Linked DNA regions of Homo sapiens: regions 1, 2, 3, 4 and 5 are each linked to region 6. The links are contacts of gene promoters, found by promoter capture Hi-C in human tissues and cell types (Jung and others, 2019). All regions are on one chromosome and are shown on one strand. The core of a region is centred on a gene start or on the middle of the fragment in contact, and the rest is flanking DNA. Distances in the headings are between cores, read along the strand shown.

Evidence for each region. Contacts are between HindIII fragments. The study calls those that stand out against the background at their distance.
Region 1: a contact is called between the fragment with the promoter of ANKRD11 here and the fragment with the promoter of SNAI3 in region 6, in 1 of the 25 tissues and cell types used here (dorsolateral prefrontal cortex).
Region 2: a contact is called between a fragment that was not itself captured here and the fragment with the promoter of SNAI3 in region 6, in 3 of the 25 tissues and cell types used here (adrenal gland, bladder and small bowel).
Region 3: a fragment that was not itself captured here is called in contact with the fragment with the promoter of SNAI3 in region 6 in 4 of the 25 tissues and cell types used here (IMR-90 fibroblasts, aorta, dorsolateral prefrontal cortex and 1 more).
Region 4: a fragment that was not itself captured here is called in contact with the fragment with the promoter of SNAI3 in region 6 in 1 of the 25 tissues and cell types used here (dorsolateral prefrontal cortex).
Region 5: a contact is called between the fragment with the promoter of CPNE7 here and the fragment with the promoter of SNAI3 in region 6, in 3 of the 25 tissues and cell types used here (heart left ventricle, heart right ventricle and spleen).

What each region holds. Positions count from the first base shown.
Region 1 is chr16:89,488,602-89,491,873 of GRCh38, forward strand. It overlaps ANKRD11 (ankyrin repeat domain containing 11), which reads right to left and starts at 1,960. Exons shown (of 13, transcript NM_013275.6): 1 at 1,644-1,960. LOC101930112 (a long non-coding RNA gene) reads left to right here and starts at 2,369. Exons shown (of 2, transcript XR_933895.4): 1 at 2,369-2,785. RefSeq lists enhancers at 506-1,019, 1,020-1,534 and silencers at 816-885, 926-1,035, 1,116-1,165, 1,740-2,219, 2,420-2,509 and 1 more. The HindIII fragment of the contact is 15,043 bases long and covers 1-3,272 here.
Region 2 is chr16:89,511,659-89,515,227 of GRCh38, forward strand. SPG7 (SPG7 matrix AAA peptidase subunit, paraplegin) reads left to right here. Exons shown (of 17, transcript NM_003119.4): 3 at 1,290-1,379. Among named protein-coding and RNA genes, the nearest start is that of SPG7, 5.0 kb to the left of the region's middle. The HindIII fragment of the contact is 3,235 bases long and covers 446-3,569 here.
Region 3 is chr16:89,232,651-89,236,270 of GRCh38, forward strand. ZNF778 (zinc finger protein 778) reads left to right here. Exons shown (of 7, transcript NM_001201407.2): 7 at 1-3,620. Among named protein-coding and RNA genes, the nearest start is that of ZNF778, 17 kb to the left of the region's middle. The HindIII fragment of the contact is 6,577 bases long and covers 1-3,620 here.
Region 4 is chr16:89,332,660-89,335,881 of GRCh38, forward strand. All of the region lies in intron 2 of ANKRD11 (ankyrin repeat domain containing 11), which reads right to left. The region is part of intron 1 of LOC128462377; the gene reads right to left. Among named protein-coding and RNA genes, the nearest start is that of ZNF778, 120 kb to the left of the region's middle. RefSeq lists a silencer at 3,023-3,152. The HindIII fragment of the contact is 3,212 bases long and covers 68-3,222 here.
Region 5 is chr16:89,574,074-89,577,519 of GRCh38, forward strand. CPNE7 (copine 7) reads left to right here and starts at 1,685. Exons shown (of 15, transcript NM_153636.3): 1 at 1,685-1,998. The coding sequence starts at 1,825. RefSeq lists silencers at 1-148, 609-838, 1,079-1,148. The HindIII fragment of the contact is 23,727 bases long and covers 1-3,446 here.
Region 6 is chr16:88,685,099-88,688,408 of GRCh38, forward strand. SNAI3 (snail family transcriptional repressor 3) reads right to left here and starts at 1,409. Exons shown (of 3, transcript NM_178310.4): 1 at 1,233-1,409. The coding sequence starts at 1,308. SNAI3-AS1 (SNAI3 antisense RNA 1) reads left to right here. Exons shown (of 4, transcript NR_024399.1): 4 at 1,693-2,088. RefSeq lists silencers at 1,020-1,179, 1,230-1,689. The HindIII fragment of the contact is 11,241 bases long and covers 1-3,310 here.

The DNA.
Region 1 (3,272 bases), core at 710-3,209, 800 kb after region 6:
ATTTTGAACGTTATGCCATAGACTAGGTCTGCACACAACAAAAACAGTAACTGTTTCGATGGCACTTTTTCCACAGGTAATATCATCTTATATGTTTGGCTAAGTCTCAACATCCCAAAAAGGATCAAAAGATTCTCTAAGTTTTGCAGTTCAACAACTGTGCACACTTTTATTTCTCATTTCAAGTGTTAAGGATATTGCTCTAATGACTGCATAAAACTCTCTCCTCATGTAAGAAAGCCTGAAATCTAATTTCTCTACCATAAAACCCTGTTCTTGCAAAAGGATACAAAACTACTCATAATCTACAAAAACGATGAATCCTAAGCATGTTACATAGAAGGAAAACAGTTTCAAAGCATAGGGAGCTGTTAGACCAGCTTCATCTTCCCAAGCCTCTTCCAAAACTTCTTGGAAGCTGATATATAACACTAACCTTCCAAAAACACAACAGAAGCAGAAAATCTTAATGGGGCACCAGGAAAAGAGCAAGCCTCGAGAAAAATCAAGACTCCCCCCGACCAACCTTCCCAAATAACACAAACACAAGAGTTAACAGTACAATCCCTCTTTGAGAGGGGACTGAATCAATGTGGCAGGGCCAACCCTACACACACACACACACGCGCGCGCGCGCGCGCGCGCACACACATACACCACACACACAGCTACCGCCCTGCCAGGGGATGATGAAATGAGGAACGGAAATTAACATTTCAGGCAACGTCTCACATTGTTCCTTGAGGCCAAGGGCTGCTGTTGCAGCCGCCACCGCCACCGCTTTCCTCCCAGCCACCCCCCACACCCGCCCGCCTACCCTCCCCCTAACACCCCCCACACGGCTGCCCGCATTCCTGCCCCTCCTCGGCCTACGCGCGCCTCCTGCAACCCCGACGCCCCCAGGTCCCCAGTTCGCCCTCCCCCTCCGGCTCGGAGCCCGAGAGCCGCCTGCTCTCATTTCAAAACAGCGATAATAATAGGGACGCTGAGAATAACAACTACGACCAGCACGGCGAAGGCGCCCCTCTCGCGGGTCAGAGGTCGGCGCCCCAGCTCCGCAGAACCCGGCGCCCGGCCAGCGCCCCCTGGCAGCCCCTCCCGGCAGCCTCAGGTCCCCAAGACCTGCAGGCCCGCCCCGAAGCCCCCCGTCCGCCCCTCACGGCCGCTCCGAGCCCCCGAGGCCCGCCCCGGAGCCCCCTGTCCGCCTCTCACGGCCGCCCCGGGCCCCCACGGCCCCCAGGCCCGCCCCGGAGCCCCCAATCGGCCCCTCAGAGCCGCCGCGGGCCCCCGGCCACCCAGGCCCGCCCGGAGCCCCCGTCCGCCCCTTACGGCCGACCCAAGCTCCGCCGACCTCCCAGGCCCCCCCCGGAGCCCCCTATGGGCCCCTCACGGCCACCCCGGGCCCCCAAAGACCCCCGGCTGCCCCGAACCCGGACCCGTAGGCCCGCTCCGGGACCCATTATTGGTCCCTCACGATCGCCCCGGGCCCCCAAAGACCCCCGCCCACCCGGCCCCGACCCCCCAGGCCCGCCCGGAGGCCCGCGGCGCAGCTCCGTCGCCGGGGAAGGCCTGCAGGCCGCAAGGCCGCGCGAATGCCCCGTGCCCGCCCCGACCACCGCCCCCAGACCAGCGGCGCCTCTCACCGTGCTCCGAGGGCTGCGCGGCTCCGCGACGGCTCAGCGGCGGGGCGCGGGCGCTGCCCATGCAGCCCGCGGCCGCGTTTCCCGGGCCGCGCGGCCCGAGCGGCAAGGCGGCGGCGGCGGCGGCGCGGGCTCGGGCCCGGCAGAGCTGCGAGGGACGGCGGGAGGCGAGCCCGCCCCTCGGGCGCGCCCACGGCTCGGGCGAGAGCCGCGGCTCCCGGTGCGGACGCTACTGATGGGGCGTCTGGCCGCGGGCTCGGCGGCGGCGCCTCCCCGGCTGGGGCCCTCGGTCCATCGCGCACCGTCTCAGGGCGGCCTCTGGCTCCAGGACCCAGCGGCGGCTGCGGCGGGAGCCGGCCGCATGAGACGCTCCCGCCCATTGGCCCGCCGTATCCGCCACCGCCATTGGCCCGCCCCGGCCGGCCGCAGGGGCTGTGCACGTCACAGCGCCGTGAGTTAGTGCGCTAATGGAGTGAAGGAGAGAGGCGGGATTGACAGCCTCTCTGGCGGTCCGGAGGCGGGACTAGGAGGACGTCCCGGTAACGATTGGGCAGGGTCCTGCGTAAGGGCGCATGCGACACTGGAAGTAGCGAGCAACTGGATTGGCTGCCTCCGTCGCAAAGGAGGGTGGGTCTTGCATTCTCGGGCCTGACGATTGGTCTTTCCAAGTGCCGGAAGCAACAGGGATGTCGTCTGGAAACAAAATCTGGTATTGAAGCGCAGGGAGACAAAACGTCCACCTCTAGAGCCGAGGCGGCGGTTGCCTGTCGCGTGCCCGTGGTCTTCTGCCTGCCCCCGGACATCTCGGGCCACGTCCGGCCCGGCCTCCGGCCGCGCTGCCCTAACGGGCGTCACGGGGCATGAAGAGCTCTGGGCGGCTGCGAGGGGAGGGTACCGGGGCAGCGGGGCGGTCGCTCGGGGCTCCCGCGCGGTGACTCTTGCTCTGCCGTCGAAGAGAACGGCCCTCGGGCGCGTCGCGGCCGCGGCTCCAGAGCCCCTGGGCCTCGCGCTCTGAGAGCCTGAGCCGCTTGAGGAGGCCAAGCGCCCACGAACCGCATTCCCTGCCTTGCTAGTTAGTTCTCCAACACGCGAAAAAGGTAGACGAGGACTGGTTTTCTTTGCAGCTAAAATGAATCAAGCCTCTGGTAAGTGTGGATCCTGTTCTAAGTGCACCTGTGTTCTCCTCCAGAACTAAACCAAAAAGCAAGGTGAACAAAATCGGTGCTCCTTCAGTTTCTTCTTTAGTTCTGCATGTTACTGGGGACTAAGACAACGGGTAAGCAAACTATTTATAGGCCTCAATTTACGAAATAACGGAATTGCAAAGTCCGGAGTGGATAGGACCGTGAGGACGGTCTTTTTTCTTGGGCAACACGCATTATGGTCGAGAGATCAGTTGTTAAACCGCCCCTGTTCAAATCCCAGCCCTACCAGTGACTAGCGGTCACCCTGTAGGCTTTGTCTCTCAGATCTTCAGTTTCTTGGTGGGTAAAATGGGAACTACAAGTAGCACCTATTCTTTTTTTTTTTTTTTTTTGAGTCAGGGTCTCACTCTGTCGCCCATGCTGGAGTGCAGTGCTAACTGCAGCCTCAGCTTCCCGGGCTCAGAGGATCCTCCCACCTTAGCCTACT
Region 2 (3,569 bases), core at 813-3,312, 830 kb after region 6:
GGTGAACCCGTTCATGTCTTTGTGAAGAAAGTTACATTTCAGGTCATGGTTGTGAAACTCTTTCCCTATTTTTATTATTTTTTATTATTATTTGAGATAGGGTCTTGCCCTGTTGCCCAGGTGCAATCTCTACTCACTGCAGCTTCAACCTCCTGGGCCCAGGTTCTCCTCCCACTCAGCGTCCTGAGTAGCTGGGAAGTCAGGCATGTGTCACCACGTACAGCTACATTTTTGTGTTGTTGTTGTTGTTGTTGTTTATTATTATTTTTTTGAGACGGAGTCTTGCTCTGTCTCCCAGGCTGGAGTGCAGTGGCGCGATCTCCGCTCACTGCAAGCTCTGCCTCCAGGATTCCCGCCATTCTCCTGCCTCAGCCTCCCAAGTAGCTGGGATTACAGGTGCCCGCCACTATGCCCGGCTAATTTTTTGTATTTTTAGTAGAGACGGGGTTTCACCATGTTAGCCAGGATGGTCTCGATCTCCTGACCTCGTGATCCACCCGACTCGGCCTCCCAAAGTGCTGGGATTACAGGCGTGCGCCACTGCACCTGGCCTCCCCCATTTGTAAACGCTGATTTGTTCAGATTTTGAGACAGCTCTGTGTGAGGAGTGTCGTGCCGGCCCCTCTTGGTGGTGGCTGGGCTGCTGCTGTTGCCACTTGTCTGGAAACCATTTGTGAGTCGGAGTCTTGCTCTGTAAACCAGGCTGGAGTGCAGTGGTGTGATCTCAGCTCACTGCAACCTCCGCCTCCCGGGTTCAAGCAATTCTGCCTCAGCCTCCCAAGTAGCTGGGATTACAAGCGCCTGCCAACACGTCCGGCTAATTTTTGTATTTTTAGTGGAGACAGTGTTTCACCATCTCAGCCAGTCTGGTCTTGAACTCCTGACCTCGTGAACCACCTGCCTCGGTCTCCCAAAGTGCTGGGATTACAGGCATGAGCCACCACGCCTGGCGTGTTTAAGTTCTTTTAAAGCAACTTCATATATTAAAGGGATTCGTGATATTTTCCCAAATTTGTGTTCATAACTATTTTTTATTCCCTCACATTAGCAATTTAAGTAGCAAAGATATTTAACGTAAGTTAAAATAGTTTATTATTTTGTAATTAGGAAATACTGGACTAAGTGATATAGGATATGCTTTATTTCATATTTATAAATCTTATGGATATAAGTAGGTTTTTCAGATGGTTTTTGTTTTGCTTTGGTTATTTAGGAGTACACTGTTGTCCTGTATGCCTCCCCTGTGGTTGCAAAACTTAATTGTTAAATCCTTTCTCTATTTCTCATAGGTGGTACTTTCTATTTTAACACCTCAAGGTTGAAGCAGAAGAATAAGGAGAAGGATAAGTCGAAGGGGAAGGCGCCTGAAGAGGACGAAGGTATATTCATCTGATGTTCTTCAGTCAGTAGCTGCCTCTGGATGTCTTTACATTTCTGTTTTCCTTTTAGCAAGGTGAAACCAGTCTGGAAAATGGGGAGATGGGCCGGGTGCAGTGGCTCACACTTGTAATCGAAACGCTTTGGGAGGCCCAGGTGGAAGGATCACTTGAGGCCTATACCACATAGCGAGACCCTGTCTCACTGCAAATTAAAAGGCTGGGCGTGGTGGCTCACACCTGTAATCCCAGCACTTTGGGAGGCTGAGGCAGGCGGATCACCTGCACCCTGGCCAACATGGTGAAACCCCGTCTTTACTAAAAATAGAAAATTAGCCGGGCGTGATGGCACACGCCTGTAATCCCAGCTACTCGGGAGGCTGAGGCAGGAGAATTGCTTGAACCTGGGAGGTGGAGGTTGCTGTGAGTGGAGATCATGCCATTGCACTCCAGCCTGAGCAACAAGAGCAAAACTCCATCTCAAAAAAAAAAAAATTTAAATTTAAATTTAAAAAGACCCTATCTATACAGAAAGAAAAGAAGAAAATAATTGGCCAGGCGTGGTGGTGTGCACCTGTAGTCATAGCTCAGGAGTTGGAGGAGCTTGAGCCCAGGAGTTGGAGGCTCAGCTTCAGACTCACAGCCCCAGGGGGCAGAAGGGTTGAACTCAGCTTCAGGAATGCTTTGCTTTTGGATCCTTGAGGCCTCTCGCTGGAAATCAGCGTTGTTAAGATGGACGCCCTGCTCAGCAGAGCTCATCTTTCTAGAAAGGCACCTGGCCTTGGAAGGCGAGTGAGGAACTGTCATAAGGACTTTTTCTTCCCATGTTGCTTTTCAGGAAAGCTTTCAGGATGTGGAAATGATGGTTCAGCTATTGGATGAGGGGATTATTATTGTGAATTCGAGTTTAGCAGGAGTTTGTTTCAGGAGTGACGTCCTTCTTGATTGATTTTGTGTGAGACGCTGCATTTGCCAAGGCCAGGGACAGCTTTACTCTGTGAGAGAGGAGCTCTGACTCTCCCTACTGAGCTCTCGAGGGGAGGTCATAACTGCGGGAAGGGACACCAGTGTTTCGCAGGTGGATTCAGTTTAGGCGTTTCTGGCTTTAGGCTCATCTTCAGCTTACTGTTGGTTTTACGGTAAGTGTCAATGCTTACAGCCACTCAGAACTATCTTCTAAAAGACTTCTGAATCTTCATACAAAATTGTTCTGAATTGATTTCAGGGCTCTTTCCCTGTATACTTCAACATTTCAATAAAGTGTGTCCTTTGACTTTTTTTTTTTTTTTTTTTTTTTTTTTTTTTTGCCAGAATCTCACTCTGTTGCCCCGGCTGGAGTGCAGTGGTGCGATCTCAGCTCAATGCAACCTCCCCCTCCCGGGTTCAAGCAATTCTCCTGCCTCAGCCTCCGAAGTAGCTGGGATTACAGGTGCTCACCACCACACCCTGCTAATTTTTTGTTTTTTGTTCGTTTGTTTGTTTTTGAGACGGAGTCTCGCTCTGTCGCCCAGGCTGGAGTGCAGTGGCACAATCTCGGCTCACTGCAAGCTCCACTTCCTGGGTTCATGCCATTCTCCTGCCTCAGCCTCCCTAGTAGCTGGGACTACAGGCACCCGCCACCGCACCCGGCTAATTTTTTTGTTTTATTAGAGACTGGGTTTCACCATGTTAGCCAGGATGGTCTCGATCTCCTGACCTTGTGATCTGCTCACCTTGGCCTCCCAAAGTTCTAGGATTACAGGCGTGAGCCACCGCGTCAGGCCCTCTTTTTGTATAGTAGAGATGAGGTTTTGTCTTGTTGGCCAGGCTGGTCTCAAACTCCTGACCTCAGGTGATTCACCCACCTTGGCCTCCCAAAGTGCTGAGATTACAGGTGTGAACCACCGTGCCTGGCCTTGACCTTTTTTTTTTTTTTTTTTTGAGACGGAGTCTCGCTCTGTCGCCTGGGCTGGAGTGCAGTGGTGTGATCTCAGCTCACTGCAAGCTCCGTCTCCCAGGTTCACGCCATTCTCCTGCCTTAGCCTCCCGAGTAGCTGGGACTACAGGTGCCCGCCACCATACCCGGCTCATTTTTTGTATTTTTAGTAGAGACTCGGTTTCACCGTGTTAGCCAGGATGGTCTCAATCTCCTGACCTCGTGATCTGCGTGCCTCAGCCTCCCAAAGTGCTGGGATTACAGGAGTGGGCCACCGC
Region 3 (3,620 bases), core at 372-2,871, 550 kb after region 6:
TTTTTTGTTAGGGTACATTTTCATCCTGGGGTCTTGCTGTGGGGGCTAGACCGTCCCTCTCAGGCTAGATCATTCCTAAAGATGGTAAACAACTTGCTGGAAACATGCACTGCATATACAAATCAACTCACTGCATATGCACATCAACTCACTGCATATGCAACTCAACTCACACCGTATATGCAACTCAACTCACACCGTGTATGCAAATCAACTCGCACTGCGTATGCAACTCAACTCGCACTGCGTATGCAACTCAACTCGCACTGCGTATGCGAATCCACTCACTGCCTATGCAACTCAGCTCGCTCTGCGTATGCAACTGAGCTCGCTCTGCGTATGCAACCCAGCTCGCTCTGCGTATGCAACTCAAGTCGCACTGCGTATGCAACTCAGCTCGCTCTGCGTATGCAACTCAGCTCGCACTGCGTATGCAACTCAGCTCGCACTGCGTATGCAAGTCAGCTCGCTCTGCGTATGCAACTCAGCTCGCTCTGCGTATGCAACTCAGCTCGCACTGCGTATGCAACTCAGCTCGCACTGCGTATGCAACTCAGCTCGCTCTGCGTATGCAACTCAGCTCGCTCTGCGTATGCAACTCAGCTCGCTCTGCGTATGCAACTCAGCTCGCACTGCGTATGCAACTCAGCTCGCTCTGCGTATGCAACTCAGCTCGCTCTGCGTATGCAACTCAGCTCGCACTGCGTATGCAACTCGCACTGCGTATGCAACTCAACTCGCACTGCGTATGCAACTCAACTCGCACTGCGTATGCAACTCAACTCGCACTGCGTGTGCAACTCAACTCGCACTGCGTGTGCAACTCAACTCACACTGCGTATGCAACTCAGCTTGCTCTGTGTATGCAACTCAACTCGCACTGCGTATGCAAATCAACTCACTGCATATGCAACTCAGCTCGCACTGCATATGCAACGCAACTCAACTCATACTGCATATGCAACTCAACTCACACTGTATGCAACTCAGCTCGCTCTGCATATGCAATTCAACTCGCACTGCGTATGCAAATCAACTTACTGCATATGCAACTCAACTCACTGCGTATGCAACTCAACTCGCACTGCATATGCAACTCAACTCGCACTGCGTATGCAACTCAACTCGCACTGCGTATGCAACTCAGCTCGCACTGCGTATGCAACTCAACTGTTGCAAGTACTTATTTCCGGCCACTTCCTTTTTCTAACTACCACACCAAGCCAGTATTTCTCCTCCCTGAAGTCAGCCCAGGATGAGGCACTAGACAGCAGGACATGCTGTATGCCCTTGGGCCTGCTGGAAGTATGCAGACTAGCCAGCCCCAGACTTCATCCTGCCCTGTCCTGCCTTTCCTGTGAAAACCCTGTGGCCTCTGCCTCCCCTGGCTCTGACTTCTGCCTCCTGCCCAGCTCTGCAGCTCCCCTTGGGCCCTGCCTGGAGTGATGTGCCGCCTTCTCTTGACACTGTGAGTGATAAACTTTCCATGTCAGGAACCTGTGTGTGTCACTCACTCACCTTGACGAGTCCGCGTCTAGGCCCCACCAGTGGTGTGGTTTTCCTCATAGTCTCTCTACCTAAGCACATGTCTGTGACAAGGTCTTACCCAGCCCAGGGATTCTTGAACTATCTGTAGGAACTGCCATGTTGACTCCTGGGCAGTTTTATTCTTTCTCTCTACTCGTTCAACCTTCTTAGGGAGTGACGTTTTTTCCAAAGTGGTTGTGAAACAGCATCTCCTTGGGGTGTTGGTTTGCACTTCTCTTCATTACTGATAGTATGAACATGGTTTTGCTTACGCTGGCTATTTTCCTTTTTGGATGAAGTACCTGGTCTTGTTTTTTCCTGGTTTGTTTGATCTTTGTTCTTTTTTAGAAATAGTGAGGCTGTTGTGAGGTGAGTCACCACTTGTGACTTAGAAGATTGCAGTGGTTTCCACTTCACCTGTTTCCACTTTTGTGATGATGCCTTAAGGAAAAAGATTGTGCCAGGTGTGGTGGCTCAGGCCTGTAATCCCAACACTTTGGGAGGCCGAGGTGGGTGGATCACAAGGTCAGGAGATCAAGACCATCCTGGCCAACATGGTGAAACGCCATCTCTACTAAAAATAGAAAAATTGGCTAGATGTGGTGGTGCACGCCTGTAATCCCAGCTCCTTGGGAGGCTGAGGCAGGAGAATTGCTTGAAGATGGGAAGCACAGATTGCAGTGAACCGAGATCGCGCCACTGCACTCCAGCCTGGCAACAGAGTGAGACTCTGTCTCAAAAAAAAAGGAAAAATATTTCTTAATTTTGGCATACTCAAATTTATACAACCTTTCCTTTATCTTCATCAGAAATTTCTTTTCTCCTAAGGCCTTAAATATGCTGTACTATTTTGGCTTCCACAGTTTCTATGTTTTATCCCAAGTTGCTTAATCCATTTGGAGTTGATTTTTGTTGACCGTATCTGTAGAGTGTAATGTCATTTTTCCCACTATGGACATAAAAATTTTTGCAAGGCCTCTTTTTTTTAATGAAGAAAAGAGGTTTATTTTGTTCACAATTCTGAAGGCCTGGAGGGTCCCAGAAGCTTGGCACCAGCACCCACTAGGCTCCAGATCGGGGCCTCATGCTGACTTCCGTTTTCACACAACGAGTGGGAAACAGGTGTCCTAACACTGTGAGAGAAAAAATCCGAAAGTTTAGTTTTTCCCATTCGCTTGCCCTGGCCTCCAGGCAGTCCTGCAGCAGCAAACACATCATCAGCCTTAGGAGCTGGCCTGTGAGGTTGACCACTCTGTAGGTGGACGAGCCTCGCCCGAGAAGAGACATGAGCAGTTCTGCGTAGGCTTTAAGACAGAATCAACATGGAAAGCACGACCCACATGGTTTCAATAGAACTTGCCTCCTGAACCTGACTAGGTTACTCGCCTGATGAACCAGTATCTCCATCACCCGTGGGACTGACAGACCCAGAGTGTCATAACCTAAAATTCAGAAGTGTAGACTATAATCTTAAATTATTCAGCATATGTGCAACAGCCTTGGGGAGCAGTGTTATGATACCAAATGGCTAACATTCATGACCTCAGTATCCTGGAAGAAAAGGAGAAAGTGTGATGTAGTAAAACCACTTGAAAAAATAATGATGAAACATTTCTCATATTTGGTGTAAGATAAAAACTTAAGTTTGAAGAGGTTCCATGAGCCCCAGACAGGATAAACCTAAAGAAAACCAAGCCCAGGCCGGGGGCGGTGGCTCACACCTGTAATCCCAGCACTTTGGGAGGCCGAGGTGGGCGGATCACAAGGTCAGGAGATCATGACCATCCTGGCCAACACAGTGAAACCTCGTCTCTAGTAAAAAAAAAAAAAAAAAAGAAAAATACAAAAATTTAGTTGGGCGTGGTGGCGGGCGACTGCAGTCCCAGCTACTGGGGAGGCTGAGGCAGGAGAATGGCGTGAACCCGGGAGGCAGAGCATGCAGTGAGCTGAGATTGCACCACTGCACTCCAGCCTGGGCAACAGAGCGAGACTCTGTCTCAAAAAAGAAGAAAGAAAAGAAAACCAAGCCCCTGCCACCACGAAGCTGCCGAAAGCTACAGAGTGAAAGTCTTGGAAGGAGGCTGAGAAAGTGG
Region 4 (3,222 bases), core at 424-2,923, 650 kb after region 6:
AACACAACGAGAGAGGCGCTGAGACCAGGCAGGGCTCTCCTCCGGCAGGGCCTGGTCTGCACTGCCCTCTCTGAGGAAAGTGCCCCGCTGCCCTGACCTCCCTAGTTTCACACCTCCACACCTCCAAGGAGGTTATCCTGGTACAACTGAGAAAGCAAGCAATTCCCTTAGAAACGTCCATTTCTTTCCTTTATGCTCAAATGTTTTATTACTCCTTAGGGCTGCTTTGTTTTTTAACGCAAGGGTCCACAGTTGAGAACGTAGTTACAAACTCAAGAAACGAGCTGCAACAGAACAGCGGGGCTGCTCCACGCTTCTCAGCCATTTTCCCATCCTGTGCACCCGGGGAATTTCACACGTGGTCCCCCAGAGTGACAGGGAACCCCCAGGGAAGAAGGGCCCCTGTGGGGCATGCAGAAAAACGCCTGCCCCCTGGTGTGAGGTCACAGACTCAGTGGCCAAGCTCAACAATGCTCTGGGAACTCCAGTCAAAGATGCATCACAACTTTTGGGTCATGCCTAAGGTCAATTCCAGAATCATTTTAGCATGTTAAACAGACACTGAAAATAAAACATATTTTATTTTTTAAAGCAGCTTTAGGTTCACAGCAAAATTGAGCATGAAGTACAGAGGGTTCCCCTGCACCCCCGGGCTCAGCATCCCCACGAGAGTGGCCGTTTGTTACAGCTGAGACCCCCCTGGACACAGCATCATCACCCACAGGCCGCACGACCTCAGGGTCCACCGGGTGCTGTGCAGTCTATGGTTGGACGAACGTATCCTGATGTGGACCCACCGTTGTGGTATCATACAGAGTAGTTTCACTGCCCCAGGTCCCCCGTGTTCCTGCTGCACAACCCTCCGTCCCTCCCTCTCCCCAGCCCCTGGCGTCACTGATCTTTGTGCTGTCTGCACAGTTTTGCCCTTTCCTGGATGTCAGAGTCGGAACCCTACAGTGTGTAGTCCTTGGAGACGGGCTGCTTTCACTCAGGCCTGGCAGCTCGTCTGTTTTTAGGGCCTTGTAATAGTCTGTCGTCTGGATGGACCTTGGTTGACTGATCCATTCACCCTCTGCAGGACATCTTGGCTGCTTCCAAGTTTTGGCAATTATGAATAAAGCCATTTTGTGAAAGTGAAATAATACAGAACAGGAAACATTAGGGGGCACTGCACACCATCACAGAAAGGGACGGTATTATTCTGTGAGTATGTTCCCAGTATGTGGGCGTGTGTTGTGAACAGAGAGATAAACTACTTTCTCACCACTGGAAGCAGTCAGGACAATTCAAATGCTGGCCTAACTGGTTAAGAGCCCTCAATCTGTGGTCAGATATATCTAAGTTTCTCAATCTATAAAATACAGAAATAAGGCCAGGTGCAGTGGCTCAAGCCTGTAAAACAAGCACTTTGGAAGGCTGAGGTGGGTGGATCACTTAAGCCCAGTTCAAGACCAGCCTGGGTAACATGATGAAACCCTGTGTTTTAAAAAAAAAAAAAAAAAAAAAAAAAAAAACAGAGAGAGAGAGAAAGAAAGAAAAAACACTGTTCCCAAGCTGCGGGCTCAGGACAATGTCTGATGCCTGGCCTAGCCCTCATCAATGGCCTTCACAATCCCTGCTGACTGGGAGTCAACCCCCAGTGAGTGTACTGCCAATACGGCCAAGTTTCTGAAGTTGGTGACATGTGAGGGTACCCCAAGACTGAACAGAAACAACCTCCTCTCAGGTTCTGAGTGGGTCCAGCTCTTCTTACCCCTCCAAGCCTGCCATTCTCTGAGGAGTCCTCTCTTCCTCCACTGCTCTGCTTCCTCTCACAAAGGGGGAGTGTCCCACCACGTCCAACTCCAGGCTGGCAAAGTGACGAGAAAACACCCCACCCATGTGGGCAGTGGGCATGCGGCATGCTATGGGGCCATGAGAAGCAGCCAGGTGGGTAGGCCAGACCCTGACCCAGAGCAAGCAGAGCCCAGCGCAGTCTCAGCCACGCTCCATGAGGGGCCACATCCACGAGGGCCCAGGAGCAACATCCCAGGCACACCCCAGGGATGAGCAGCACAGGCCGCCAACCACGTCATACCACACTCACTTGTGCAAAACACCCTCAAACTGCAAAAAGCCCACCCACGTGTCCACCAGCAGAAGAGCAAATGAGTCCAGGTGGCCCACAACACACGGGGCGCACGTGTCCATAGACAGCACACTGGATTCGAAGAGCCAGACACGAGTGTGTCTGCTGTGGCCTTCTGCATGCATGAGGGCCCCATGGTGCTGGGGGCCAGGCAGACAGTCAAGCAGCAGAGTGGAGGGGAGGTCCAGGAGGAGATCCCACAGGTACATGTGACATGAGCTCTATCGTATGTGCACCTAAGATGTGTGCCATTTCCTCCACGGATGTTATACCGCAAAGAACAATAAAAAACGACTAACACTGATTGCTGACCACCTCCCCAAATAACTAATCAGGACACACCCTGATGCCCCATGTCCGGCCTGTGGGGGCACTGTGGAAAGCACAGGAAGTGAGCTCAGTGCGTGCCTTCCCCATTGTCCTGGCGTTCCATGCAGGCTGGGAGACGCGGGTGACAGCCTCACACCACCCCTGTTCCCAGAAGAGGCCAGTGCACCCCCAAGCAGGGGCTGCAACAGGGCTGCACAGAGGGCTCCAGTTCCTTCCAGCACAGGAACAAATCCACACCGAGGCATCCGTGAGTCCCACAGGTCCCAGAAGCATGGGAGCAGCTTGAGGCCTCTGCATTCAGGGGTCTCTGCCGTCCTGAGCTTCAGGATGAGTGGGTTCCCACCTAGCACGCAGTACGCAGTGGGTTAGGGCAGGTGCTCTCCCTCCTCTCCCTATGAACGCTATACCACTCCCATGAAAGCCTGTGCGTGCTGCCTCAGGACCCTGTAGCAGAACAGCGAGTGACGTCGCTTTGGCAGGGAACCTTTGGTTTGCAAAGCCCCGTCACACACACAAGCTGAGGTAAGATGACAAGTCTGTGTCTCTGCACCTCAGCTGAGCCCTCAGGACACAGCACATGAGCGCCCAGGGGCCTGCAAACAGCAAGGACCAAGGCATCACTGACCGTGACAGGCCCCAGTGTGTGACAGTGAGAGGCCCCAGTGTGGGTTCTCACAAGCTTGTTTTACGGTTTGACCCAGAGAGTACCTGTGAGTTTCCCCTACAGCTGGTGCTTCTAAAGGGCTAGGAGAAACGCAGGGCAG
Region 5 (3,446 bases), core at 435-2,934, 890 kb after region 6:
GCTGTGGCTGGAGATCCCAAATCGCCCTGGGCTTCAGAGACTCAAATTCCCAAACTCTGTGATCTTTCTTGGCTCCCTGCGTCCTTTGCTTGGAAGCCATCTGTTATTTTGCCAGGGTGCCGCTATGTGACAGCCAAGGGCTGAACTGGGGTGTTCCAGGTTTAAGCCGGGTACCCCTCAGACAGCCTGGTGGACCTCAGGCCTCACGCCACACTGCAGACGAGCAAACCTCAGGGCGGTGGTGAGGAGCTTTCGGGTGAGGTCAAGGCAGGAAGCGGAGCTTGGTCTGGGGAAAACTGTCCCAGGGCTGCTGGAACCGAGCGGGAGGCACGGCCTGCAGGAGCTGCCTGGGCGCCCGCACCCTTTGCCTGAATTTCGCATCCTTTTCCCATGGAAGTGGTTGGGGACCGAGGATGTGGCCTCCCGGCAGCCTGGAAGGCTGGGCTGAGGAGGACACAGGGCCGGGAAGGCCCAGACTGGTCCCTAGAGAGCGGGACTGGCCTCTGCCCACTGCGGGCTTCAGGGAGGAGGCGCAGAGGCCGGGGAGACAGCAGATGGGGCCCTGCAGGCCTCGCTGCGCCCTGACCTGTTCCTCGCCTCTTTAGCCAACCTCCCGGGAAGGCAGGAGCCGGTCTCCATGGCCTCTCCCGGCCCTGCCAGCCCCGTGGGGCCTCCCCGCCCTGCAGCCGCGCCCGGCGCCATCCCGCCGTCCGACCGCGAGGGGACGCCGCTGGCCGCGTTCCTCCTCCCAGGCCGAGGCTGCCTGTGCTGCCTCCCGCCGGCGGGGCCCTGAGCCTCCTCGCCCTGTCGGCGGCGGTCCCCTCTGACCGCAGGGTCTTCTTCTAGAGTCCTGATCGCCGAGGCTGAGCGGAGGCGCCCGGTCTTCCCGCCTCTTCAGTCTTAATGTCTCCCTCACCCTCGCCCCCCACCCCCGTGGCTTTTGGCGAGGTCCGTGCCCTATTTTTAGGCAGAAATCGGCAAAAAGAGTGGACTGCGAGGTGGTTTCTGTCCCCGCCGACGCCTCCTCTTCCGCTGCTCCCTCCCCCGGGACCGGTGATGGGGAAGGTGGGGGAGTGAGTTCAGGGCGGAGCGGGCCCACCCCCCACGGAACCCAGGCCTGCCCCGCCCCGCCCCGGCCTCGGGGGACTGGTGTGGACCGTGCCCCGCGGACCCCTCGGAATCAGACCGCGATTCAGCCCTCGGCCCCCCGGGACGGTCCTTCCAGCCCCAGACGAGCGCGGCGCCTGCACACAACAGGCGCCCACTAAATGCTTGTTGATGGAGGTGGCGAGTACCCGAAACCAGCGGAGCCTGGAAATGGGATCCTAGAGATCCGGGAAGGGCGCGGGGATCTGGTGCCAAGCTGGGGTCCCCCTTTTGCCTCCCCTAGTGTCTGCCTGGGTCCGAACCCGGGCTCAGGCCCCGCGCAGCTCGGAGCCTCCAGCCCGGAGCCGGTCCCTGGGCCGGGGATGCGCACAGCCGGGGAGGGCGCGCCCGACCTGACCCCAAAGCTATCAGTTGGGGGGGGGGTCCCCGGGGAATTAGAAGCTGTCTCCTCCCGGGCATCTCCGAGGGGCACCCCTGCCTCTGCCCCCTGCCCTCATTTCCCGCCGCGCCCCTCCCCGGCCCCGCCCCCCGGCCGCGCCCCACCCCCTGCAGTCCCCGCGCGGCGGCCGCCCGAGCCACGTGCGCCCGCGCCCGGCAGGCGTTCAGGGAAGCGCGGCCACGCCTGGGCCGGCCACCATTTCCCGGGCGCCGCGGCGGCGCCGACTCGCGGGCAGCGGCCCCTCAGTGCGCCCAGCCGGGCCCCCGAACGCCGGGAGCATGAGCGCGGGCTCGGAGCGCGGGGCGGCGGCAACCCCCGGGGGTTTGCCCGCGCCCTGCGCCTCGAAGGTGGAGCTGCGGCTCAGCTGCCGGCACCTGCTGGACCGCGACCCGCTCACCAAGTCCGACCCCAGCGTGGCGTTGCTGCAGCAGGCGCAGGGCCAGTGGGTGCAGGTAGGGCCGGGGCGTGGGAGGCCGAGAGGCCACCGGGCCGGGGCTGGCGCCGAGCTGGGGATGCGGAGACCAGAGCGGGCGCGCTGAGGCCAGTGGGGCGCAAGGCGGGGCCCCCCGGAGCTGGGGCTCAGCTCGGGGTCAGGGTTGGGGGTTACCAGGTCTGGGGGTGGGGTGTCCAGAGCTGTGGGGAGAGGCTGGGCTGGAGGAGGTGGCGGCGAGCGGGGTTCGGAGGAGAGAGGGGGGTGCCCCGCAGTGAGGGGTGCGGCCCAGGGTTCGGGGAGGGGGCCCCGGGCCAGAGTGAAGCGCCCAGGCATGAGGCGCGGGCAGGGGGCTCGACCAAGAGGCGCAAGGAGATTGAGGGGTGAGGGGCGCCGGCCGACGGGGGGCGGGAGGCTGGGCGGGAGCAGGCCGGCGAGGGAGCGCGCGCTGGGGTGCGGACCTCCAGGCGTCCGGGGCTCCCGCTCCAACGTGGGTCTCAAGCGAACCCGCTGTGATCGCGGTTGGGGTCCGAAGGGGCACGGGGCCGGCGCCAGACGGGCGCTTCCTCGGTCACCATCTCGCGTGAAACGCGTGGCTTCACCTCGAAAGGGCGAGAAACGCATGGCGCGAAGCCGCAGCGGGCGGAGGAGCCGGAACTCGAACCCCAGTCCGCGCGGGGCGCCAGCGCTTTTCCCCGGCGCAGGGGTCTCTCCAGGCTCCAGCGCGGGCCCGGGCGGCTGCTCGGGCGGTGGAAGGGACGCGGTCACCCGGTGGCGTCTCCGGTCATCCACCTTGAGGGTGAAGGGCCTGCCCCGCCCTCACCGCCTGTCCCCAGGGTTCCGGCTGCCCCCGGAGGCCCCGTGCCCGCCCCTCACAGCCTGAGCCCACCCTTCACATCCCGAGCCCACCATCCCCACGGAGGCCTCGTGCCCGCACCCTCAGAGCGTGAGCTGTACGGGTGGCCCATGTTTGCCCTTGGTTTGAGGTGCAGGATTTTTCAGGATTCTGAAATGAGTAGCCTACTGGCCCAGCTGGGTCTTGTCCTTACGGGGCAGTTGGACCAGGGAACTGCATGGGATGGGAGAGGCTGGTGAGCCCATGGTACCCCAGCCAGGAGGGAGGGCCCCCCTGTACCCTACGCCCCCTCCCCACTCAGCTGGTGCTGGGGAGCGGCCTGCACTTTAGGGCTGCCCAGCCCAGGGTGTGAATCTGATCTCGCCCCCGACTCAGCGTGTCATTCTCGTCCTCTGTGAGCCTCACTTTCCCCATCTGTGATCTGAGGGTGGAGCAGACAGTGGTGGCCAGGGGTGACCCCCAGGGTGGCCCTCGGGATTGTGGTCCCATGGACAGAGAGCAGGCAGGAGGTCTTCCCAGGGTATGAGTCCTCCTGAGGTACCTGGGCGTGGGTGAGCGGCAGAGGGGAGATGGAGGTCTGGAGCCCGGGGTGGAAGCCTCTGGAGTGGGGTCGG
Region 6 (3,310 bases), core at 159-2,658:
CACTTTGAAACTTGCAACTATTACCCATGTAAATTCCGCACACATGTGTAGTCACATGCGCATCCACATACACATAACAGAAGCCAGTGTCCTTCACCATGAGCCAGGCACTCCGGCAGTTTCTGCTCTATTTTATTTTACAAAATTGCTGGGGGTGACTGATGAAACTGATTTCAAAATGCACATTTGAAAAGCATGGTCCTAGCTGGCACCCCCTGGTGGCAGCCCGGGCCTCGGGTGTGGGTCCAGGTGGGATCCCCCCCATCCCCAACTCTGGGTTCTGAGCTGGGATAAAGGCCTCTTGGCGGTGTTGCTGGGGGCCACAGCCCCAACAGCGCCCTTCCTGCTCTCCCCCACCGGCCACAGAGCGTGAGTCCCGACCACCGCGTCCGCCGGCGCCCCTCAGTGGGCCTTTGTCCCAAGAAGCTGCCAAGCCAGGTGGGGACTGCTCTCACCGCCCGTGTGGCAGGCTGTCCTCTGAAGGACAGAGTCCTCTTCTCTCGTGTCCCTAAGCCTAGCAGGCAGTGGGAATGAACGGGCAGCCCGGTTGCTGGGCACCCATCTCCCCAGCCTAGCCGGTGTGTGGAGGATTGCAGCCCTTTAGCCCAGCCTGCCCAGGCAAGCCTGCCGGGGTGAGCAGGAGGGCTTCTGGGGTGAAGGGAGGTGGGGGAGGGAGGGAGACCACGGGCGGAGGCTCACCTGAACTGAATGCAGGAGGGGCAGTGCCTTTGCACCAGAAAGAGCCCATGTGTCCTTCTCACCATCCCCTGTGCTTACACCCCCAGTCAGCATGCTCCGGGGGTCCCTGAGCCGGGCCGCCCCAGACGGCCCTCCTTCCCTCCCACCCACCACCCCGCGACCCCTCCCAAACGTGTGCGCCAGGAAGATGACTCCAGGGTGCCTTTAGCTGGGGCTGTAGTGGTTGGGACGGGCGGCTGTATATCAGGGGTGAGTTCCAGGGAGACTTGGGGGCTTAGAAAACTTAGAAAACTTCTCCAAGTTGGGAGAGAATCCCGCCCGCCCTGCCGGAGGCGGGGCTCAGTGCCCTGAAGTGGAGGCGCCCGTGGGCCACCTCCCTCCCTGCAGCCGCAGCCGCTGCGCAGAGGCGCTGGCTCCTTCTCCTCCCACCTGGGACAGGTGTCTCCCCAGCCCCCGCTCCCAGGGGCCTCTCTCTCTCTCCCGCCCCTCAGGGTCGAGTCCCGGCAGGGGCTCGGGGATCGGGTAGTCAGTACCTCTCTGCGTCTCCAGCCGCCGGTAGTTGGGGACCCTGTGGCTGGAGTGCGTTTTCACCAGGAAGGAGCGCGGCATGTTCCCCTCCCGGGCGGCAGGCCGGGGTGGGCTGGGGCGGGAGGGGCGCGCCTGGGTCCGGACTGCTGCGTCCGCCGGCGCTTGAAGGGGTCAGGCTCATTAGCATAGCGCGCCGCCTCCGCCAACCAGCGCCCGGCGCGAGTGGGGCGGGGCCACGGGGGCGGAACTGAGGGCGAGGCGGGGTCTCGGGCAACACGCCCAGGACAGGTGCGCGGGCGGGACGGGGCGGGGAGCGCGTGGCCGCCGGTGTCCTCCCCACGGGAATTCTCTGGCGTGCGCGCCGCCGAGTCACACACCGACCCGTCGGGCCTGGCCACCCACTCGCCGTGAGTGAAGGGCAGAGTTCAAAGCTGTGTGGAAACCGAGCGAGAATCTCTTCCACAGAATGTGGAAGCGTCGGCCGAGCGCGGTCCTTGGAGAACCCTTGCTGCGGAGAATGACGCTCACTCTGCGGCCTGGCCTCGCCTCCCCATCCCTTCTGCAAACTCACAGGACAGGATTGATGGGGAGAGCCCAGGCGAAACGAAGCTGACCCTAGTGACCAGCCCTACTGGCGGCTCTGGAACAGGCCCGGGACCGGTGGCCTGGAGACAGTGGTCCTTTCTGGATGGGCTGCAGTCTCCGAAGGCTTCCCCCACTGGAGTCAGCCCTTTAGGAGTTTGTCCAGTGCCTCCAGAAAGCTGTTTTTTGGGGGACGGAGGACTTGGCCTGGAATTCTGGAATTCCCAGGGGGTCAGACATGGTTATGGGAAGTTTAATAAAACCGGTGAATCACGTGAATTCTGCAACAGCTGCACGTGTGACCTGGGCAATCCGTTTCCCTCCTTTGTGGTCCTGTAGAGCCCTCAGGGTCATAAAAAGCTGGGAGCCGCTGTGTCCAGTGTCTGGGTCTCTTTTGACATGGACATTTCATAACGTTGGGGGCCAGGTGGGGCCGTCTCTGGGCTGGCGTGCACACAGGGTGTCCCTGGCTGTGCCGCCGGCCTGCCTCCCCAGCAGGGCTTCCACCTCAGAGCTGGGTGGCCTTTGCCCCCTGTGGGCCGGGGGTGGAGAAGGTGGGGGGTGGTGAGTCCATGGAAGCTCTGAGGGACAGACAGCAGGGAGGAGGGCCGTGCCACACCAGCATCCCACGTCCCACATCACACGTCCAGGGTGTGAAAAGCTGGGCTAGTATCAGCCCCACTTTGCCAATGAAAAAAAACTAGGCTGTGAGTCTGGGCTCAGCAGCTCACGCCTGTAATCCCAGCACTGTGGGAGGCTGAGACAAGAGGACTGCTTGAGCCCAGGAGTTTGAGACCAGCCTGAAAAACAACATGAGACCCCGTCTCTACAAAAAAAAAAAAAAAAATTATTTTAATTAGCCAGGCGTGGCAACACCCATCTTCAGTCCCAGCTACTCAGGACGCTGAGGAGGGAGGATTGCTTGTTGCAGTAGCCTCCAGGAGGTGGAGGCTGCTGTGAGCTATGATGACCCCACTGCACTCCAGTCTGGACAACAGAGCAAGACCCTGTCTCAAAAAATTAAAAAAAAACAAAAAAGAAGACCAAGGCTGTGAGAGGTTAGGACACAGTGGGATTGGGACCCAGCCACACTCCAGCTTGTCTGCCACTTGGTGAGGGGGAGTGGAAGGACAGGTGGAGGTGCCCCTGGAAGAAGGTGCCCGCCTCTCCTGCAAGCATGGCCTGGCACCACCACGCCGGGAGTGTAGATTTCAGAGGACACATGCCTGCCTTCTGCTTATTCACCTGTTCCTCGCCTGGAAAGGTTTCTATTTATAGCCTCCCTTCCTTCTCTCTCTCCCTCGCAGACACAGATAACGCTTGCAGATACCTGAGCCAAGCCTCCACCCACACCGTCCCTCCCCGCCCACCTACCCGTTGTGTGGCCACCCGCCAAGCCCCAGCAAGCTTATCTCCTAATCCCAGCTAGAGCCTGGTGTTACTCAGGGCTGCTGTAGCCCTCCCGAGGAGAATGGCTGATCTCATCCCGGGAACGCCCTAG